7 separate regions of the Homo sapiens genome follow, and regions 2, 3, 4, 5, 6 and 7 are each linked to region 1. Evidence: promoter capture Hi-C in 16 types of primary human blood cells and fetal thymus (Javierre and others, 2016). All regions are on one chromosome and are shown on one strand. The core of a region is centred on a gene start or on the middle of the fragment in contact, and the rest is flanking DNA. Distances in the headings are between cores, read along the strand shown. Region 1 holds the start of SMARCC2 (SWI/SNF related BAF chromatin remodeling complex subunit C2). Region 2 overlaps TIMELESS (timeless circadian regulator). Region 3 overlaps RAB5B (RAB5B, member RAS oncogene family). Region 4 overlaps LOC105369781 (a long non-coding RNA gene). Region 5 overlaps IKZF4 (IKAROS family zinc finger 4). Region 6 overlaps PAN2 (poly(A) specific ribonuclease subunit PAN2). Region 7 has its middle 15 kb from the start of RPS26.

Region 1 (2,623 bases), core at 62-2,561:
TCAATTCCCCCAAGGCCGGAGGCTAAGCCCCTAGCCTGATCTCCCTGCAAAAGGTCAAAGGTAGAAGCCTGGGAATAAGAGCCTCTCACAGGCGTAGAGACATGCCATAGAAATAGCAGCTATTTGTCAGGATTCTCACACCCAGAGAGACCCCAAGGGCAGGGCCAGGCTCACAACCAGCATCAGTAGGAAGTTCTCCTAAGCCACTAAGCACACTTCTGACGAGCTGCAAAGCCGGCAGGAAGAACTGGGGAGCTGAAAGAAAGCCATAAAGAGAATCCCTCTCTGAGGGTAGTGAGAAAAAGAGAGGCAGACCATTTCCAGAGAAAACCAGGCCTAGAGACAAAGACGACACCAGGAAGAGGTTTGGTAGAAAAGACAGGTAAGGATTCTTGAACCTTTTGTTCACCACCTTATGATCTCCAGTTATGGGGTTTGGGTGTGAGGGGCTAGAGATAGGAAGCTCACCCTAACCTCTCGACCCCAAACCCAGGGTACTGCAAAGCTAGGTTGCAAGGTGACTTCATTGTAAAATCGAGGAAAGGTTTCGGAAGGGGCCGCTACCCAGGAACTCCTATACCCCGGCTCCCTGAGAGATTCTGTTGCCCCTTAGATGAAGGTGGGGGATGAGCGGCGGAGACAGGTGATCCCTGGGTGGAGACCTTTTTCAGGCTGATGAGCAGCCAACGGCTTGCTCTGTGACTGTTTACCCTCCTGCTTTCCATTCTCTCTCTCTGAACATACACAAAGCACCGGAGAGGCCTCAGCCCCGCTGGTACCTGGCTCCGTGGGGAGCTCTGGCGGGCACGCTCCGGGTTGCGGGGGAGCCCATTGGGCACCCGGTCCACACCCGGCCGGCCGCCTCTCCCAGAAAAGCCAGGAGGGCGATGGCTGAGGGGAAGGTGGGCTAATGGCACCGGGGCCCGCCGGGCAGTAGAGAAAAACAAGGGGCAGAGGGCGCAGCAGTGGGGGCGGGGGCTGGGCTCAGAGGCTGGGGGTGCGGGGAGAGGGAGGCTGGGGGAGGGGCGCGGGAGCGCAGGAGGGCGCGCGGGGGGCTGCTTGGGAGGCCGCGGGGGAGGGGCTGGGGCGCCTGGAGGGTAGGCAGGATCCCGGGGCTGCAGGGCCGCGGTCCCTTTGTCCCGCCCCCGGTCCCCGCGCGGCCCGGCCCGGCCCGCGTACCTTCTTGTAGTTCTTGCCGAGCCACAGCCGCACGTTGTCGAACTGGGTCACGGTGTCCGCGGCCTCGTAGTACTTCACGTTGGGGCCGCCGTCCTTCTTCCGCACCGCCATCTTCTCCGGCTCGGGCCCCGCCGCCGCCCGCCCCACTCAGCTCAGCTCCCGCCTCCTCCGCCTCCTCCTCCGCCCGCCTCCCGCCGCCTCCCGCCGCCGCGGCCGCCGCCTCCCGCCGCCTGGGCCGGCCCCGGTCCGCGCTGCGCCCCCTGCCGGCAGGCCGGGCGCGGCGGCGGAGCTCCAGGCGCGGGCCGACCCTGGCGGCCTCCCCGGCAGCGGAGGCGGGAGCCTCCGGGGAGAAGGACGCTTCCTGGAGGGGGCGCCATTCTCCTGAGATCGCTCTTACCAGACGCGAAGCCCTTTCCCTCTTTTTGCCTCAGCTCGGGAGTGTCACCTCGCTATCCCACTCCAGGCGGCCGCCAGTCGCTGGAGCAGCCCCAACCCGTAGACCCGAGTGGTCCTCACCTTGCGCATTCCTAACCCGACGAAGCCCCTCGTCCCCCAAAACCCCAAACCCCTTTCCCCAAGAAGTTCCTTCCTTCCATCCATTCACAGCAGCTCCCCATTTAAACTTTTCAGAGTCTCCCTCACTCCTCGCGCCTTGTCCACCCAGCACTCCCCTCACTTGTTAACCCAAATGTCCCCTAGTCGCCACCCTGGCGGCCCAGTGCCTTCCCTCAACTGCTTCCTCCGCAGGCCTCGCTGTCGCCTCCTAAGTAGGTGTGAGCTCCTACTCGAGACCCCGACTCTTCGCTAGGCAGGAGACCCTCCCTCCCTGGGTCACCCAGTCCATCCGACTCTTTTTCTTTGGGTGGCGTAGATAGGAGGTAAGGAACCGAGGGGTGGGGAGTCCTCAGGTGTGTGTGTGTCGGGGCCGGTACCCTGCTTCCGGTTCCCGCACGCATTCCCGGATTGCAGTGCGGACCCCTTCTGTAAGCGCGCGATAAAGCGCGGTTTTGGAAGTCACGGTGGCCGAGTGGTTAAGGCGTTGGACTCGAAATCCAATGGGGTTTCCCCGCACAGGTTCGAATCCTGTTCGTGACGGGTTTTTTTTTTTTTTCTTTCTTCTTCTTATTATTAAAAGGGAGTCTCGCTCTGTTGCTCAGGCTGGAGTGCAGTGGCGCGATCTCGGCTCACCGCAACCTCCGCTTCCCGGGTTCAAGCAATTCTCCTGCCTTAGCTTCCCGAGTAGCTGGGACCACAGGCATGCGTCACCATACCTGGCTAATTTTTGTATTTTTAGTAGAGACAGGTTCACCATATTGGCCAGGCTGGTCTCAAACTCCTGACCTCAGGTTATCTGCCCGCCTCGGCCTCCCAAAATGCTGGGATTACAGGCGTCGACTTTTTTAACCCCTTTCACAGCACATAAAGGTAACCCCAGTTCTCACAC
Region 2 (2,623 bases), core at 38-2,537, 240 kb after region 1:
CCTGTGTCTACAAAAAATACAAAAATTAGCCAGGCATGGTGGTGTGTACCTGTAGTCCCAGCTACTTGGGAGGCCGAGGCAGAAGAATCGCTTGGGCACGGGAAGGAGAGGTTGCAGTGAGCTGAGATTCAGCCACTGCACTCCAGCTTAGGTAACAGAGCGAGACCCTGCTTAAAAAAATAAATAAATAAATAAATAATTAAAAAAAAGAAAAGCAGGAGAGTGAGTCAATACCCAAATCCTGCTTCTCCCAAGTCAGGGCTGTGAACCAGTCTTTGGTGTGGGTACTGAAAAGTCAAACAGGATGAACTGAGAGGCCCCTGAAGGTCATGCTCCATTAAAGAACTTACAATCAAACACACCAAAACTTAGGAGCATGGAGTCCAGCAGATCTGGATTTGAGTATTGAATTAGTATTACTAACAAGACTTTGGACAAGTTGCTTAACCACTTTGGGCACATGCGCTACTGTGAGGATTACATGAAAACGTCAGCACAGTGTCTGACACACAGTAAATGCTCAATAAATGATAGTACCTAGTATTACAGATAATACCACAGAGCTCTGAGTGCAAAAATACCCTTTAGCAAAGTCTCGTTGGTACTACTGCATCTTTCAAGTCCAGTTATGACAGAATTTTAAGCTGTAGCAACTAGAGTTATAGGAAGGTTCTGGTACAAAATCTTTTTTTTTTTTTTTTTTAAGACAGAATTTCACTCTTGTTGCCCAGGCTGGAGTGCAATGGCGTGATCTCGGCTCACTGCAACCTCTGCCACCTGGGTTCAAGCGATTCTCCTGCCTCAGCCTCCCAAGTACCTGGGATTACAGGTGTGTGCCACCACGCCAGGCTAATTTTTGTTTGTTTGTTTGTTTTTTGAGACGGAGTCTTGCTCTGTTGCCCAGGCTGGAGTGCAATGGCATGATCTTGGCTCACTGCAACCTCCGCCTCCCGGGTTCAAGTGATTCTCCCACTTCAGCCTCCCAAGAAGCTGGGATTACAGGTGCGCATGACCATGCCTGGCTAATTTTTGTATTTTTAGTAGAGACAGGGTTTCACCATGTTGGCCAGGCTGGTCGTGAACTCCTGACCTCAAGTGATCTGCCCGCCTCAGCCTCCCAAAGTGCTGGGATTACAGGCATGAGCCACCGCGCCTGGCCCAAAATCTGTTTATACAAAGCAAAGTCTCTGTGTTTCCAGGATACAAATTCCTTGGAGTTTGCATTTTGTCCCAGGGTTTTTTTTATTTTAATGTGAACCAATAATTTTATTTTTCAGAGATAGGGTCTTGGTCTCACCCAGACTGGAGTGCAATGTCTCAATCACAGCTCACTGCATCCTCAAACTCCTAAGTTCCAGTGATCCTCGTGCTTCAGCCTCCTGAGCAGCTGGGACTACAGGTATGTGCCACCATGCTGGTGAATTGTTTTTGTTTTTTGTTGAGACAGAGTCTTGCTCTGTGGCCCAGACTGGAGTGCAGTGGCATGATCTTGGCCTACTGCAACCTCTGCCTCATGGGTTCAAGCAATTCTCGTGCCTCAGCTTCCCAAATAGCTGGGACTACAGGTGCGTGCCATCACACCCAGCTAATTTTTGTATTTTTAGTAGAGAAGGAGTTTTGTCATGTTGCCCAGGCTGGTCTCAAACTCCTGGCCTCAAATGATCCACCCACTGTGGCCTCCCAAAGTGCTGGGATTACAGGCATGAGCCACTGTGCCCAGCCTGTCCTAGGCTTTTCACTGATTCCACTTTGGGTTCATGGACAACTGTCACAATCCCAACTTTATGGATCTGGAGACCGACACGACCAGCTTGAGCTTATTCCAATAATAACCAATACAGGACTAGATTCCAGACTTTCTAAAGTTCAATTTAAGGCTCTCTTTGTGTTGCTGTTGAGACAGAGTCTCACTGTGTCACCCAGTCTGGAGTGCAGTGACATGATCTTGGCTCACTGCAATCTCCACCTCCTGGATTCAAGCGATTCTGTCTCAGCCTTCTGAGTAGCTGGGATTACAGGTGTGCATCAACACGCCTGGCTAATTTTTGTATTTTTAGTAGAGACGGGGTTTCACCATGTTGGCCAGGCTGGTCTTGAACCCCTGACCTCAAGTAATCTGCCCACCTTGGCCTCCTCAAGCGCGGGGATTACAGGTGTGCGCCACCATGCCTGGCCGCAATTTAAGGCTCTTTCCACCTCACCACAATGCTTTCAAGGTATAACCAGAAAATGCTATAGCATAATTATTAGACTCTAAAATTATGAATCCCCAGGGTTTTTGTACTTGGCATGTGGTAGGTGTTCAATAAATGTTTCCTGACTGAACTAAAATATTTATGGCAGATCAGAGATTATTCTAATGGGAGAAGGAAACTGTAGTAGACTCACACTGGCCAACACCCACAAACCTCTTGCTGTCGTAGTTCAGAGCACGTTTAACAGATGAACTTAAGCTGTACAAACTGTGAGAAGAAAGAGCCCCCCTTCCTTGACTCTCCCTTACAGCTCTTTCTACATTGTGGGGCTGCCCAGTACCTGCACCACCAGGTTCCCACGGCTCCGACAGAATCGCTCCAACATTTTGAGGAAGAGGTGGGTGGTCTCCACCAGGTCACGAAGGAAA
Region 3 (2,623 bases), core at 76-2,575, 200 kb before region 1:
GTGTTGGCCAGGCTGGTCTCAAACTCCTGACTTCAAGTGATCCACCCGCCTCGGCCTCCCAAAGTGCTGGGATTACAAGCATGAGCCACCGTGCCTGGCCTCTTTCCCCTTTTTATTAGTCATCTTGGAAATGTATTCCTGGACCTGCAGCAGATTATATGAAAAAGTAACAGCCAAATAATATTGATAATGATGGGACTTGCCATCAAGCTTTAAAATCTTCTAATTAATTCTTTTTTTTTTTTTTTTTTTTTTTGGATACTGAGTCTCACCCTGTTGCCCAGGCTGGAGTGCAGTGGTGCAGTGGTTGCCCATTGCAACTTCCGCTTCCCCAGTTCAAGCACTTCTGCTGCCTCAGCCTCCCAAGTAGCTGGAATTACAGGCGTCCATCACCATGCCTGGTTAACTTTTGTGTTTTTAGTAGAGGCGGGGTTTCACTATGTTGGCCAGGCTGGTCTCGAACTCCTGACCTCAAGCCATCCACCTGCCTTGGCCTCCCAAAGTGCTGGGATTACAGGCATGAGCCACTGCGCCCAGCCAATCCTCTAATTAATTCTTTTGTTTGTTTGCGTTTGTTTGTTTGTTTTTTGAGACGGAGTTCCGCTCTTGTTGCCCAGGCTGAAGTGCAGTGGCGCCATCTTGGCTCACTGCAACCTCCACCTCCCAAGTTCAAGGGATTCTCCAGCCTCAGCCTCCCGAGTAGCTGTGATTACAGGTGTCCACCACCACGCCTGGCTAATTTTTGTATTTTTAGTAGAGACGGGTTTTGCCGTGTTGGCCAGACTGGTCTCGAACTCCTGACCTCAGGTGATCCACCTGCCTCAGCCCCCACCTCCCAAAGTGCTGGGATTACAGGCGTGAGCTACCGTGCCCAGCCCAATCTTCTAATTAATTCTTGATGTGACTTTTATCTGAAGCTATTTTCTCTGTCATTTGTTATTCTCCTATTTTGGTTAGAAGAAGGATGACTCGTATAAGTGCCAGTTCTTCTGTCCCTCTTAGTTTATGATGTACCCCCATTCCTTAGCTAGTGACATTTCTGGCAGGAAGGACTTAGCCAAGGGCAGTCTTAATCCTGGTTTCAAGACTTACATGTAAGGAGAACTCAAAACCTTTTCCTGTAGCTGACTATCCTGGGTGGTGACTGGTCTTAGTGTAGGGCAGTTACATTTTGAAGGGGGGGAGGGATGTTCCCATTCATCCTCCCACTTACAGCATCTTCCCCTCCATTCTCTCATCCATAGCGGCCTTCCTCACCCAGTCCGTTTGTCTAGATGACACAACAGTGAAGTTTGAGATCTGGGACACAGCTGGGCAGGAGCGATATCACAGCTTAGCCCCCATGTACTACAGGGGTGCCCAAGCTGCAATCGTGGTTTACGACATTACTAATCAGGTAAGTGAGCTAAGAAGACTGTCCTTGTTGGCTGGACATGGTGGCTTACGCCTATAATCCCAACACTTTAGGATGCCAAGGCGGGAGGATCATGAGGTCAAGAGATTGAGACCATCCTGGCCAACATGGTGAAACCCCGTCTCTACTAAAATTACAAAAATTAGTTGGGCGTGGTGGTGCGCGCCTGTAGTCCCAGCTACTCGGGAGGCTGAGGCAGGAGAATCGCTTGAACCCAGGAGGCGGAGGTTGCAGTGAGCCGAGATCGAGCCACTGCACTCTAGCCTCGGCGACAGAGCAAAACTCCGCCTCAAAAAAAAAAGAAAAAAGACTGTCCTTGCTTATATTTAGAGGAGTTAGTTTGGGGCAGGGGGTAAGGGGGCAGAAAACGGGTTCTTGAAATAGCAAATAAGAGTACAAATTATGCTTCCAAGTGCTAAGAAGACAGATAATGAATTATCAGAGACCTGTGGTTTCACTGAGGGAAGACCACCTAGAAGAGGTGAATTTTGAGACTCATTTTAAAAGGTGATGGATATGGATTGGCAGTCATTCCAGCCTACTCATTCTCTTCATGTTTTCCTAGGAAACCTTTGCCCGAGCAAAGACATGGGTGAAGGAACTACAGCGACAGGCCAGTCCTAGCATCGTTATTGCCCTGGCAGGGAACAAAGCTGACCTGGCCAACAAACGTATGGTGGAGTATGAAGTAAGGTGGCCCGTGGAGTTCCTCTCTAACACTTCCTCTGTTCCTGGGACCTCTTTTTTTCCAAACCAGCCCTCTCTGAAAACGTCAACAGAGGACATTCATTGTCTCATTCCCCAGTTCTACACCAAGTTAAATACAGCAACACTGTGACCCTAATGACAGCCAGGAGATTTTCAAAGGAGTCAGGAGAAAACTCCAGAGCAGAGGGTTAGGGAGGTACCAGCTGTGGGGGTACCAGTGTGAAAACAGGAAGGAGGGAGCAATTAAATTTGTGGTAAGGGACTATTCAAGTGTCACAACCCAAAAGCCCCCAACTAACTTACCCTCTCCCCTATAATTAAGCTTTCTGACATTTGTGTGTTGGACTGAGTGGACATGGGGTCATCTTGAGGGAGTTGTCATTAAATTATGCATCTAGGCTAGCTGGCTCAAAGGGGTATTAATTAAGGGGAGGGAACCTAGGATTTTGCCTAGCTGTTGTGCTGCATGGGAGTGGAAAGGCAATACTCGTTCCCACCCTA
Region 4 (2,623 bases), core at 52-2,551, 180 kb before region 1:
GCAGTTAGTTAGTTGAATTGTAGCTTCTGGGCAATCCCCTTCCTCTGAGTAGGTTAAGGGTAAGGCATATTTCAGGACTTGGCTCAGAAATAAGTCCTGACTTTTTTCCAGTGAAAATGCAACTGAAAGTCTCTTTATGTCCTCTTAGTTTGAAATCTGCAGCTTGAACTTCCCAGCATGGGAGAAACTTATCCCACCTTTCACCGTACCCCCTGCCCCCCCACACACAGTAGTATCCACAAAGGAATTATTTTTTTTCCCCAACTGGCCATCTCTCTCTCTGTCTCTCTCTCTCTCTCGCCACACACACACACACCAAAGAAAAAGAAAGATAGGTATTTCTAGCCTCGTTTTACTCTGTAGGAACAAATAAGAGTGTGGGACCCTGTGAGTGTGGACAATGCCACAGGCAGAGGGACTCCCTTTCTTTATTGGTCTGTTGACTCTGCTGAAGAAAGCTTTGAATTCCAGGCTTTGATTTGCTTCCTCTTCTTAGAAGAGTTATGGACTCTGTTCTGGAAACAGAGAGATAGGTTCAAAGTTTATCAGACAAAGGCATCTAAGAAAGGGTAGTGCTGATATGAATGACCTGGTCCAGCTGCGGGGAGGATCCACATTGTAGGCTCTGATGCAATACCTATGCTGGGGTAGTCCTCAAGCTAAGAGGCCGTTTCTACTTTAGAGACTTAATGACCATCTAGTTTGGTGTTTTCCTCAGGTCCATTATCTCTGAAAAGAGACATAGGAGGAAGAGGATTATTTATCCTCCCATCCATAAGCCTGTGTTTCCAGTTCAAGGATTTAGGTCAGCAAGACGCAGACCCAAAAACCATTCATTTAATAACCCAAGAAAGAAGGCAAGCAGGGTGGCCCAAATCTTCCAACTGGGGCAAGATTTAATATAGTGTTCCAGTGGAAAGAATCTTCTAATGGTAACTTGGACTCTACATGTCCTAATTCTGTTGTTAATGAGATTGATGACTCTGGGCTTAGTTTCTTCTGTTAAAAACTAGGAAATTGTAGATAATCTCTCAACTCCATTTCAGCTCCAGGATTTCTCAGTTCCTGGAGTACCCCTGCCCTAGACCCTCCACATGAAGAAGAGAGTCTTACCAAATTGGATTATCAGAGCAAGACTATTAGCAGAGAAGCCTGAAAACATCTTTCTGGCCCAAACAACAGTGAACTTTTTTGATCAGCATGTATTAGGGACTTTTGGGCACAATTGCAATCAAAGGCAATTGTTCCTGTCTCTTCTACATTTTTTTTGCTACTGTACCCTAGTCAGAATAGTTCACTGAGACTTCCCTGTAATTTCAAACTTCACTTGAGAGTGCTAACCCTGTTTTGGGCATCTTTGGCTTTAAAACTGATTATTATAAAACTCAAATTGAATTTCCCTGCTCTACTTTCTCCACCCCTGCCAAACATACCACTGAACAGCAGTGATTTTGTGAGGCCTTTCTATAAACAGAGAGCTATACTTGGGGGTACACCCAAAAACCCCAAAAAGTATCATCTCCTATGTATCATATCTAGTGATTTAAAGTGTTTAGTTTGGCCCTTTTCCTTAGTTCCTTATGTCCTGAAATGAGACATGGGAGGGATAGGATCGTTTCTTCTCCCACTCATAAACCTTAGCCTTCTCTCTCTTCTGCAGTCTACATGGGGAGGACAGAGAAGCGCAAAGAACAAGAGAAAAGATGCATCCATCTGAGATCTAAAAGGAGACAATGAGGTGATATTTTCCCCCTGCCCAGGTGTTGTGTTTTCAGCTCTTACCCCTTTTTATTTTAGAGACTGGCCATTCCTAGGATGACCTGGGAATTTATCCCCTCTGCACTGCTCCCCAAGCACTTGGATAATGAAGCTGAGCTGTCTTCAACTGTATTATATGTAGACAGAAGGTCACCATCTACAGCCTGGTGAAAAATGAGTCAGACCTTTCCACTGTAAAGACAAACACATGAGCTGAGCTAAGGTTGGTGGGTTTCCTTCAGAGAGCACTAGGTTGACCCTAAAGATAATTTCAGAGCTGCAAATTGCTTGATGTCTAGGTCTTTTTCCTGGAAAGGGGCTTGCAGACAGTGGCTAATTCCATACCTTTCCCTGGCCCCTTTGCGTCTTCTCCCTCCTCAATTATGCAAAGCTTTGATAGAGAGCAGAGCCAGCTATGTGATTTCAACATATTTTTGCTCAGATTTCACTCAGTTCAGGAAGGCATAGACAGTAGAGGATGATGCTGTGGGTTTGCTCTACTTGTAGCACCTGAATGGCTCATACCCAAGGCACATGGGAAGTTCTGTCTTGTTAATAACTACTGCTCTCCACCGCAGAACCCAGGTACTAAGGGAAAGTGGAGAAAATTTTTCTACTTCTGCCTGTTATAGTTTGGGAATAATAACAAAAACATGGTATGGATCCTTGCCATTCTCTCTACCTTCACCATCTTTCCCAACAATATTCTTCTCATGACCTTTTACCCCCTAGGCCACATTAAGCATGTGTTAAATGACTTTTTTTTTTTTTTTTTTTGAGACGGAGTTTTGTTCTTGTTGCCCAGTCTGGAGTGCAATGGCCCGATCTCGGCTCACTGCAACCTCCGCCTCCTGGGTTCAAGCGA
Region 5 (2,623 bases), core at 56-2,555, 160 kb before region 1:
AGGTAGGGGAAGTTTGGGTCTATATCCTTGGCCTAATGGGAGAGAGAGAACACAAGAAGTATAAAACCAAGGGCCAGATGTGTATGATTGTCCCCAAATGATCTGAAATTTTATTGGAGTGAGCTTTAGGTAGGGTAAACAGAGCCCAGTTTCCCAGGCAACTGGTATGTCCTTCCTTGGCTACTGACCTGCTGGTTTTCTCCAGGCAAAGGCTGTGGGGCCAATGCTACCCCTACTCAACTGCTACTACTGTCTCCACCTTCTTCCCACTAGGTGACGAAATACGTGACCTGGAGATGGTGCCAGACTCCATGCTGCACTCATCCTCTGAGCGGCCAACTTTCATCGATCGTCTGGCCAATAGCCTCACCAAACGCAAGCGTTCCACACCCCAGAAGTTTGTAGGTAAGAATCCAGTTGGAAAGACGTATCAGCTTTAAGCCACAGCTCAAATAAATCTGAGCTGTGTGGTCTGGAGATTCGGTTTGGGGAAAGAAAGCAGTCTGGTGGGCTGGGTGCAGTGGCTCACGTCTGTAATCCCAGCACTTTGGGAGGCCAAGGTGGGCAGATCAAGAGGTCAGAAGATCAAGACCATCCCGGTTAACACAGTGAAACCCCCTCTCTACTAAAAATACAAAAAATTAGCCGGGCGTGGTGGCGGGCACCTGTAGTCCCAGCTACTCGGGAGGCTGAAGCAGGAGAATGGTGTGAACCTGGGAGGCGGAGCTTGCAGTGAGCGGAGATCGCGCCACTGCACTCCATCCATCCTGGGCAACAGAGCAAGACTCCGTCTCAAAAGAAAAAAGAAAAAAGGAAAGAAAGAAAGCAGGCTGGTGGCCTCTGATACTGAAAATCTATCCTCAGGACAGGAGGAAAGTAAAGAGGGAGGATGTACTCAAAGAGAGTGGAGAAGGGTTGGCACTGAAGACTCTCGTGGTGGTTGTAAGGGACAGGGTCGAGGCATCGGGCTGTCTCAGTTTTTTGTTTGTTTGTTTGTTTTTGAGACGGAGTCTTGCTCTGTCGCCCAGGCTAGAATGCAGTGGCACGATCTCGGCTCACTGCAACCTCTGTCTCCCAGGTTCACGCCATTCTCCTGCCTCAGCCTCCCGAGTAGCTGGGACTACAGACGCCTGCCACCATGCCCGGCTAATTTTTTTTGTATTTTTAGTAGAGACGGGGTTTCACCGTGTTAGCCAGGATGGTCTTAATCTCCTGACCTCATGATCTGCCCGCCTCAGCCTCCCAAAGTGCTGGGATTACAGGCGTGAGCCACCGCGCCCGGCCCGGGCTATCTCAGTTTTTAAGAATAACAAGAACTTCAGTCTGTGTGGGCCCTTAGAGAGTCAGAGAGAGGAAATAAGTATGTGGTTCCCCCTATCCCCAGCACTAGTCATGAGCTCTCTAAGGACCTGGAGCTTTATGGAGAGTAATAAAATGAAGTATTAAAAATCAATGGGCTGGGATTGAGTCCTTCTCTAAGATTATAGCCTAGAGTCAGGGAGCAGTCCCACAAAGGACCTGACCCTGCGAAAGTAAATGCCACGTAGTAAATAATGTTACACCCAGCCCCACAGGTAAAAAAACAAAGAAGTAATCCTGAGGAGAGTGTAGGAATTCTCCAAACCCAGCCCTGCTGAGTTCCTGTTCTCCACAGGCGAAAAGCAGATGCGCTTCAGCCTCTCAGACCTCCCCTATGATGTGAACTCGGGTGGCTATGAAAAGGATGTGGAGTTGGTGGCACACCACAGCCTAGAGCCTGGCTTTGGAAGTTCCCTGGCCTTTGTGGGTGCAGAGCATCTGCGTCCCCTCCGCCTTCCACCCACCAATTGCATCTCAGAACTCACGCCTGTCATCAGCTCTGTCTACACCCAGATGCAGCCCCTCCCTGGTCGACTGGAGCTTCCAGGATCCCGAGAAGCAGGTGAGGGACCTGAGGACCTGGCTGATGGAGGTCCCCTCCTCTACCGGCCCCGAGGCCCCCTGACTGACCCTGGGGCATCCCCCAGCAATGGCTGCCAGGACTCCACAGACACAGAAAGCAACCACGAAGATCGGGTTGCGGGGGTGGTATCCCTCCCTCAGGGTCCCCCACCCCAGCCACCTCCCACCATTGTGGTGGGCCGGCACAGTCCTGCCTACGCCAAAGAGGACCCCAAGCCACAGGAGGGGTTATTGCGGGGCACCCCAGGCCCCTCCAAGGAAGTGCTTCGGGTGGTGGGCGAGAGTGGTGAGCCTGTGAAGGCCTTCAAGTGTGAGCACTGCCGTATCCTCTTCCTGGACCACGTCATGTTCACTATCCACATGGGCTGCCATGGCTTCAGAGACCCTTTTGAGTGCAACATCTGTGGTTATCACAGCCAGGACCGGTACGAATTCTCTTCCCACATTGTCCGGGGGGAGCATAAGGTGGGCTAGCAACCTCTCCCTCTCTCCTCAGTCCACCACTCCACTGCCCTGACTACAGGCATTGATCCCTGTCCCCACCATTTCCCAAGGAGTTTTGCTTTGTAGCCCTCACTACTGGCCACCTGACCTCACACCTGACCCTGACCCCTCCTCACCTATTCTCTTCCTCTATCCTGACCGATGTAAGCATTGTGATGAAACAGATCTTTTGCTTATG
Region 6 (2,623 bases), core at 76-2,575, 140 kb after region 1:
CGTTCCTAGTCCAGAGCTGAGAAGCCACTTACAGGTAATCAAATATAATGAGGCCCCCACGGGCCATATACTTGAGGTTGTTCTTGGTGAGAAAAAGGATACCATTCTCCAGGCTCTGGATCTGCCGAATATCATCACTGCCATTGACTTGAAAGGATGAGTAGCGCTCCAAGGCTGGGCCAAAAAATGAAGTGGCATGGCCCTATAGAGGACAAAGACAACAGAGACACTTAGAGTGGAGGGGCAAGGGCCACCCTACGGCCAGGTCAGGGACTGAACATGGCTCAGCTTGGATCCTTTCTTGCTTGGCCTTTGTGACTAGGAGCAACTGGGGCAAAAGGCTAGGAACCAGTCAATCTTAGTGATAAAGACACTGATAATACTGTCTTATGTTTGTTTAATGTGTTACACAGCATTTTGGTAAACTCTACCTCATTTTGTCCTCACAATGACCCTGCTGAATAGGTAATGGCTCACTTGGTTAGAACAGTATATAGAAGGTCAGGGACATGGTCCAATTCTCTACTGGCCAGCTGGCTTTCTTATGTTTCACATCTGGGAGGATGTGCATAAGGTTATATGCAAATACTATATCATTTTCTATAACGGATTTAGGCATCCTTGAATTTTGGTATCTGGTATCTTTAGATCTTGGAACCAATCCCACATGGATACCAAGAAGATGATGGTAACTACTAAACCTCCTTAAACATCCCATCATAACCTCAAACTCATGACATCCTAAATTAAATTCACCATTTTTATTTCTATTTTTCTTACTGTATTCTCTATGGTACCAAGATCTACCTAGTTGACCAAGCCATATATCTGACAGTCAAGTCCTATGTATTTTTTTCCTAACCACTAGATAACCAAGGATTTTTTAAAATTTTTATTTATGTATTTATTTTTTGAGATGGAGTTTCACTCTTGTTGCCCAGGCTGGAGTGCAATGGCACGATCTCAGCTCACTGCAACCTCTGCCTCCCAGGTTCAAGCAATTCTCCTGCCTCCCAAGTAGCCAGGATTACAGGCATGCACCACCACACCTAGCTAATTTTTTGTATTTTTAGTAGAAAGGGGGTTTCACCATGTTGGCCAGGCTGGTTTCGAACTCCTGACCTCAGGTGATCCACCTGCCTCGGCCTCCCAAAATTCTAGGATTACAGGCATCAGTCACCGCACCTGGCCTATTTTGCTTCCTAAATATTTCCCAAATCTGAGGCTGGGTGCTGTGGCTCACACTGTAATCCCAGCACTTTGGGAGGCCAAGGCAGGTGGATCACTTGAGGCCAGGAGTTTGACACCAGCCTGGCCAACATGGTGAAACGTCATCTCTACTAAAAATACAAAAATTAGCTGAGCATGGTGGCACACACCTGTAGTCCCAGCTACTCAGGAGGCTGAGGCAGGAGGATTACTTTAACCTGGGAGGCAGAGGTTGCAGTGAGCTGAGATGGCACCACTTCACTCCAACCTGGGCAACAGAGTGAGATTCCACCTAAAAAAAAAAAAAAAAAAAAGCCCTTCAGTGGCCTGAAGGTTCAAGTCCAAGGTCCAAGCTCTTTTAACACAGCATATGAAGTTCTCTAGAATGTTCCTTCCCCAGATATCTACATGGCTCCTTCCCTCCCTTCTAGAGGGCCTAGAATAGTAAAGGAGAGGCACAAGGATAAGTTAGAGGCATGGAGCTCTGCCTCTTTGTTCCCCTTTTTGGTGCTGCATCCAAGTCTCTATTCAAATGTTACTTTATCAGAGAGAACTCCTGACCAACTATTTAAAGTAGCAACATTGTTTCTAAAAGAGCCATTAGGAAAAAAGATTAAAATTAAAACAAAACACTACAAAACCAAACAAAATAGCAACATTTCCCACCCTTCATTACCTCAACCCCCTTACTCAACTGTATTTTTCTTTTTTTTTTTTTTTTTTTTTTTTGAGACGGAGTCTCGCTCTGTCGCCCAGGCTGGAGTGCAGTGGCGGGATCTCGGCTCACTGCAAGCTCCGCCTCCCGGGTTCACGCCATTCTCCTGCCTCAGCCTCCCAAGTAGCTGGGACTACAGGCGCCCGCCACTACGCCCGGCTAATTTTTTGTATTTTTAGTAGAGACGGGGTTTCACCGTTTTAGCCGGGATGGTCTCGATCTCCTGACCTCGTGATCCGCCCGCCTCGGCCTCCCAAAGTGCTGGGATTACAGGCGTGAGCCACCGCGCCCGGCCTGTATTTTTCTTTTAATAGAGATGGGGTCTTGCTATGTTGCCCAGACTGGTATTGAACTCTTAGGCTCAAGCAACCCTCCCACCTTGGCTTATCAAAGTGCCGGGATTACAGGTGCCACTGTGCCTGGCCTCATTGTATTTTTCTTTTTCTTTTTTTTGAGACGGAGTCTTGCCCTGTCACCCAGGCAGGAGTGCAGTGGTGTGATCTCAGCTCACTGCAACCTCTGCCTCCCAGGTTCAAGCAATTCTCCTGCTTCAGCCTCCCAAGTAGCTGGGATTATAGGAACCTGCCACCACACCCAGCTAATTTTTATATTTTCAGTAGAGACGGGGGTTTCACCATGTTGGCCAGGTTGGTCTTGAATTCCTGACCTCAGGTGATCCGCCTGCTTCGGCCTCCCAAA
Region 7 (2,623 bases), core at 91-2,590, 130 kb before region 1:
TCCCAGGTTCAGCGATTCCCCTGCCTTAGTCTCCAAGTAGCTGGGATTATAGGCATGTGCCACCACACCCAGCTGATTTTTTTTTTTTTTTTTTTTTTTTTTTTTTTTAGCAGAGATGGGTGTCTCACCATGTTGGCCAGGCTGGTCTTGAACTCCTGACCTCAAGTGATCCATCCGCCTCTGCCTCCCAAAGTGCTGGGATTACAGGCATGAGCCACCACACCCAGCGAAGGCTGATTATTTTAAAAAGCAAACCACTGCCAGGTGCAGTGGCTCACACCTGTAATGCCAGTGCTGCAGGAGGATCCCTTAAGCCCAGGAGTCCCAGACCAGTCTGATCAACATGGTGAAACCTCGTCTCTACAAAAAAAATTTTTTAAATTAGCCAGGTGTGGTGGTGTATGACTGTAGTCTCAGCTATTGGGGAGGCTGAGGTGGGAGGATCCCTTGAGCCTGGGAGGTCGAGGCTGCAGTGAGCCAAGATAGTGCCACTGCACTCCAGTCTGGGCAACAGAGCAAGATCCTGACTCTTAAAAAAGAAAAAAAAAAAGGGCTGGGAGTGGGGCCTCACGCCTGTAATCCCAGAACTTTGGGAGGCCAAGGCAGTAGATCATGAGGTCAGGAGTTTGAGACCAGCCTGGCCAACATAGTGAAACCCCATCTCTACTAAAAATACAAAATTAGTCAGGTGTGGTGGCACATGCCTGTAGTCCCAGCTACTCAGGAGGCTGAGGCAGGAAAATCGCTTGAACCTGGGAGGCGGAGGTTGTGGTGAGCCGAGATCACACCACCGCCCTCCAGCCTGGGCAACAGAGCTAGACTCCATCTCAAAAAAAAAACAAAACAACAACAAAAAAAAAAACAAAAAAAAAAAAACGGCCAGGTGCAGTGGCTTATGCCTGTAATCCAAACACTTTGGGAGGCCAAGACTAGTGCGGTGGATTATGAGGTCAAGAGATCGAGACCATCCTGGACAACATGGTGAAACCCCGTCTCTACTAAAAATACAAAAATTAGCCAGGTGTGGTGGCACTTGTCTGTAATCCCAGCTACTTAGGATGCTGAGACAAGAGAATTGCTTGAACCCAGGAGGCGGAGATTGCAGTGAGCCAAGATCAAGCCACTGTACTCCAGCCTGGGCGACAGAGCAAGACTCTGTCTCAAAAAAAAAAAAAAAATACAATCTCATCACTCCCCCACTGAAATTCTTAAGCTTCTCTCTGTAATTAAAATGTACACTCCTTACTGTGGTATATATGCCCCTGCATGGTCTGGCCCCTCCCTTCCTCTCTAACCACCTCCTCTGCCATGGCCTCCCCATGATTCTTTCTGTTCCACCACACTGGCCTCCTTTCTGTTCCTCAGACCCTCCAAGCTCATTCTTCCTTCAGACCTTATCCCCTCACTAGTTGCTCTGCCAGCAATGCTCTTCTTTCAGGTCAACACAAAACTGGCTCCTTCTTATTTAAAGCTTAGTGCAAATGACACTGCCTCAGAGACCCCCCTTCTTGACCACTCTGTCTAAATTAACTCCTCCAGGTGAGCAGCAGTGGTCACTTTCCCAGTATCTTGTTTCGTTTTCTTCATGCCACTTACTACTGAAGTTATTTCCTGAGTTGTTCATTGGCTGTCTGCACTCTCTAGAATGTAAGCCCCTTGAAGGCAGAAACCTGTCTCTTGTTCTCCTGTGTCCTCAGTGTTTGGAGCAACACATAACACTGAATGAATGAATGCATGCATGCATGCATGTATGGGGGCGCATGAGAAGGATGCAGGTGGCAGGCAGTTGTATTTGTTTCCTCTCGGTGCTGTAACAAATTACCACAAACTCAGTTTTATTATTATTATTATTTATTTTAGTTTTATTTTTTTGAGACAGAGTTTTGCTCTTTTTGCCCAGGCTGGAGTGCAATGGCGTGATCTCAGCTCACTGCAACCTCCGCCTCCCGGGTTCAAGTGATTCTCCTGCCTCAGCCTCCCAAGTAGCTGGGATTACAGGTGCACACCACCACACCCGGCTAATTTTTTGTATTTTTTAAGTACAGACGGGTTTCACCATGTTGTCCAGGATGGCCTCGATCTCTTGACCTCGTGATCCACCCGCCTCGGCCTCCCAAAGTGCTGGGATTACAGGCGTAAGCCACCGTGCCCGGCCAGTTTTATTATCTTATAGTTCTAGAGGTCAGAATCTGAAACGGGCCTTACAGGACTACAAGGTGTTGGTGAAGATGGGTTCCTTCTGGACGCCCTAGGGGAGAATCTATTTCCTTCCCTTTTCAGCTTCTAGAGGCTGCCCGAATTCCTTGGCTGAGGTTGCAGTGAGCCAAGATCGCGCCATTGCACTCCAGCCTGGGCAACAAGTGCAAAATTCTGTCTCAAAAAAAAAAAAAAAATTGGTCTGGGTGCACCAATTTTACTAGTCCCTGGATGTTTCAAAGATAAATCAGATGCAGGCCAGGTGGCTCATGCCTGTAATCCCAACACTTTGGGAGGCCGAGGCAGAGGATTACTTGAGGACAGGAGTTTGAGATCAGCCTGGGCAACATAGCAAGACCCTCTTTCTTTCTCTCTTTCTTTTTTTTTTTTTTTTTTTTTTTTTGAGACGGAGTCTGGCTCTGTCACC

Evidence for each region. Contacts are between HindIII fragments. The CHiCAGO score rates a contact against its expected background, and 5 or more counts as called.
Region 2: a fragment that was not itself captured here is called in contact with the fragment with the promoter of SMARCC2 in region 1 in 2 of 17 cell types (erythroblasts and activated CD4 T cells); the score reaches 5.5 in erythroblasts.
Region 3: a contact is called between a fragment that was not itself captured here and the fragment with the promoter of SMARCC2 in region 1, in 2 of 17 cell types (total CD8 T cells and naive CD4 T cells). The highest score is 6.7, in total CD8 T cells.
Region 4: a contact is called between a fragment that was not itself captured here and the fragment with the promoter of SMARCC2 in region 1, in 1 of 17 cell types (naive CD8 T cells). The highest score is 6.0, in naive CD8 T cells.
Region 5: a fragment that was not itself captured here is called in contact with the fragment with the promoter of SMARCC2 in region 1 in 2 of 17 cell types (total CD8 T cells and naive CD8 T cells); the score reaches 5.2 in total CD8 T cells.
Region 6: a fragment that was not itself captured here is called in contact with the fragment with the promoter of SMARCC2 in region 1 in 2 of 17 cell types (fetal thymus and endothelial precursors); the score reaches 5.1 in fetal thymus.
Region 7: a contact is called between a fragment that was not itself captured here and the fragment with the promoter of SMARCC2 in region 1, in 8 of 17 cell types (total CD8 T cells, naive CD4 T cells, total CD4 T cells and 5 more). The highest score is 7.1, in total CD8 T cells.

The regions. Positions count from the first base shown.
Region 1 is chr12:56,188,172-56,190,794 of GRCh38, forward strand. It overlaps SMARCC2 (SWI/SNF related BAF chromatin remodeling complex subunit C2), which reads right to left and starts at 1,312. Exons shown (of 29, transcript NM_001330288.2): 1 at 1,180-1,312. The coding sequence starts at 1,290. TRS-CGA4-1 (tRNA-Ser (anticodon CGA) 4-1) reads left to right here and starts at 2,193; the gene lies at 2,193-2,274. LOC107984468 (a long non-coding RNA gene) reads left to right here and starts at 2,521. Exons shown (of 2, transcript XR_007063330.1): 1 at 2,521-2,623. RefSeq lists silencers at 1,049-1,268, 1,339-1,618 and an enhancer at 1,859-1,958. The HindIII fragment of the contact is 5,408 bases long and covers 1-2,623 here.
Region 2 is chr12:56,425,701-56,428,323 of GRCh38, forward strand. It overlaps TIMELESS (timeless circadian regulator), which reads right to left. Exons shown (of 29, transcript NM_003920.5): 13 at 2,536-2,623. Among named protein-coding and RNA genes, the nearest start is that of TIMELESS, 22 kb to the right of the region's middle. The HindIII fragment of the contact is 2,921 bases long and covers 1-2,623 here.
Region 3 is chr12:55,988,703-55,991,325 of GRCh38, forward strand. It overlaps RAB5B (RAB5B, member RAS oncogene family), which reads left to right. Exons shown (of 6, transcript NM_002868.4): 3 at 1,245-1,396; 4 at 1,980-2,102. Among named protein-coding and RNA genes, the nearest start is that of SUOX, 7.3 kb to the right of the region's middle. The HindIII fragment of the contact is 2,234 bases long and covers 209-2,442 here.
Region 4 is chr12:56,009,757-56,012,379 of GRCh38, forward strand. It overlaps LOC105369781 (a long non-coding RNA gene), which reads right to left. Exons shown (of 3, transcript NR_135023.1): 2 at 1,783-1,922; 3 at 336-515. It also overlaps a transcript of IKZF4 not described here. Among named protein-coding and RNA genes, the nearest start is that of IKZF4, 10 kb to the right of the region's middle. The HindIII fragment of the contact is 1,691 bases long and covers 457-2,147 here.
Region 5 is chr12:56,032,917-56,035,539 of GRCh38, forward strand. IKZF4 (IKAROS family zinc finger 4) reads left to right here. Exons shown (of 8, transcript NM_022465.4): 7 at 274-405; 8 at 1,655-2,623. The coding sequence ends at 2,415. Among named protein-coding and RNA genes, the nearest start is that of RPS26, 7.7 kb to the right of the region's middle. The HindIII fragment of the contact is 3,063 bases long and covers 1-2,623 here.
Region 6 is chr12:56,328,440-56,331,062 of GRCh38, forward strand. It overlaps PAN2 (poly(A) specific ribonuclease subunit PAN2), which reads right to left. Exons shown (of 26, transcript NM_014871.6): 3 at 33-202. Among named protein-coding and RNA genes, the nearest start is that of PAN2, 4.2 kb to the right of the region's middle. The HindIII fragment of the contact is 3,073 bases long and covers 1-2,623 here.
Region 7 is chr12:56,055,226-56,057,848 of GRCh38, forward strand. No RefSeq gene overlaps it. Among named protein-coding and RNA genes, the nearest start is that of RPS26, 15 kb to the left of the region's middle. The HindIII fragment of the contact is 258 bases long and covers 1,212-1,469 here.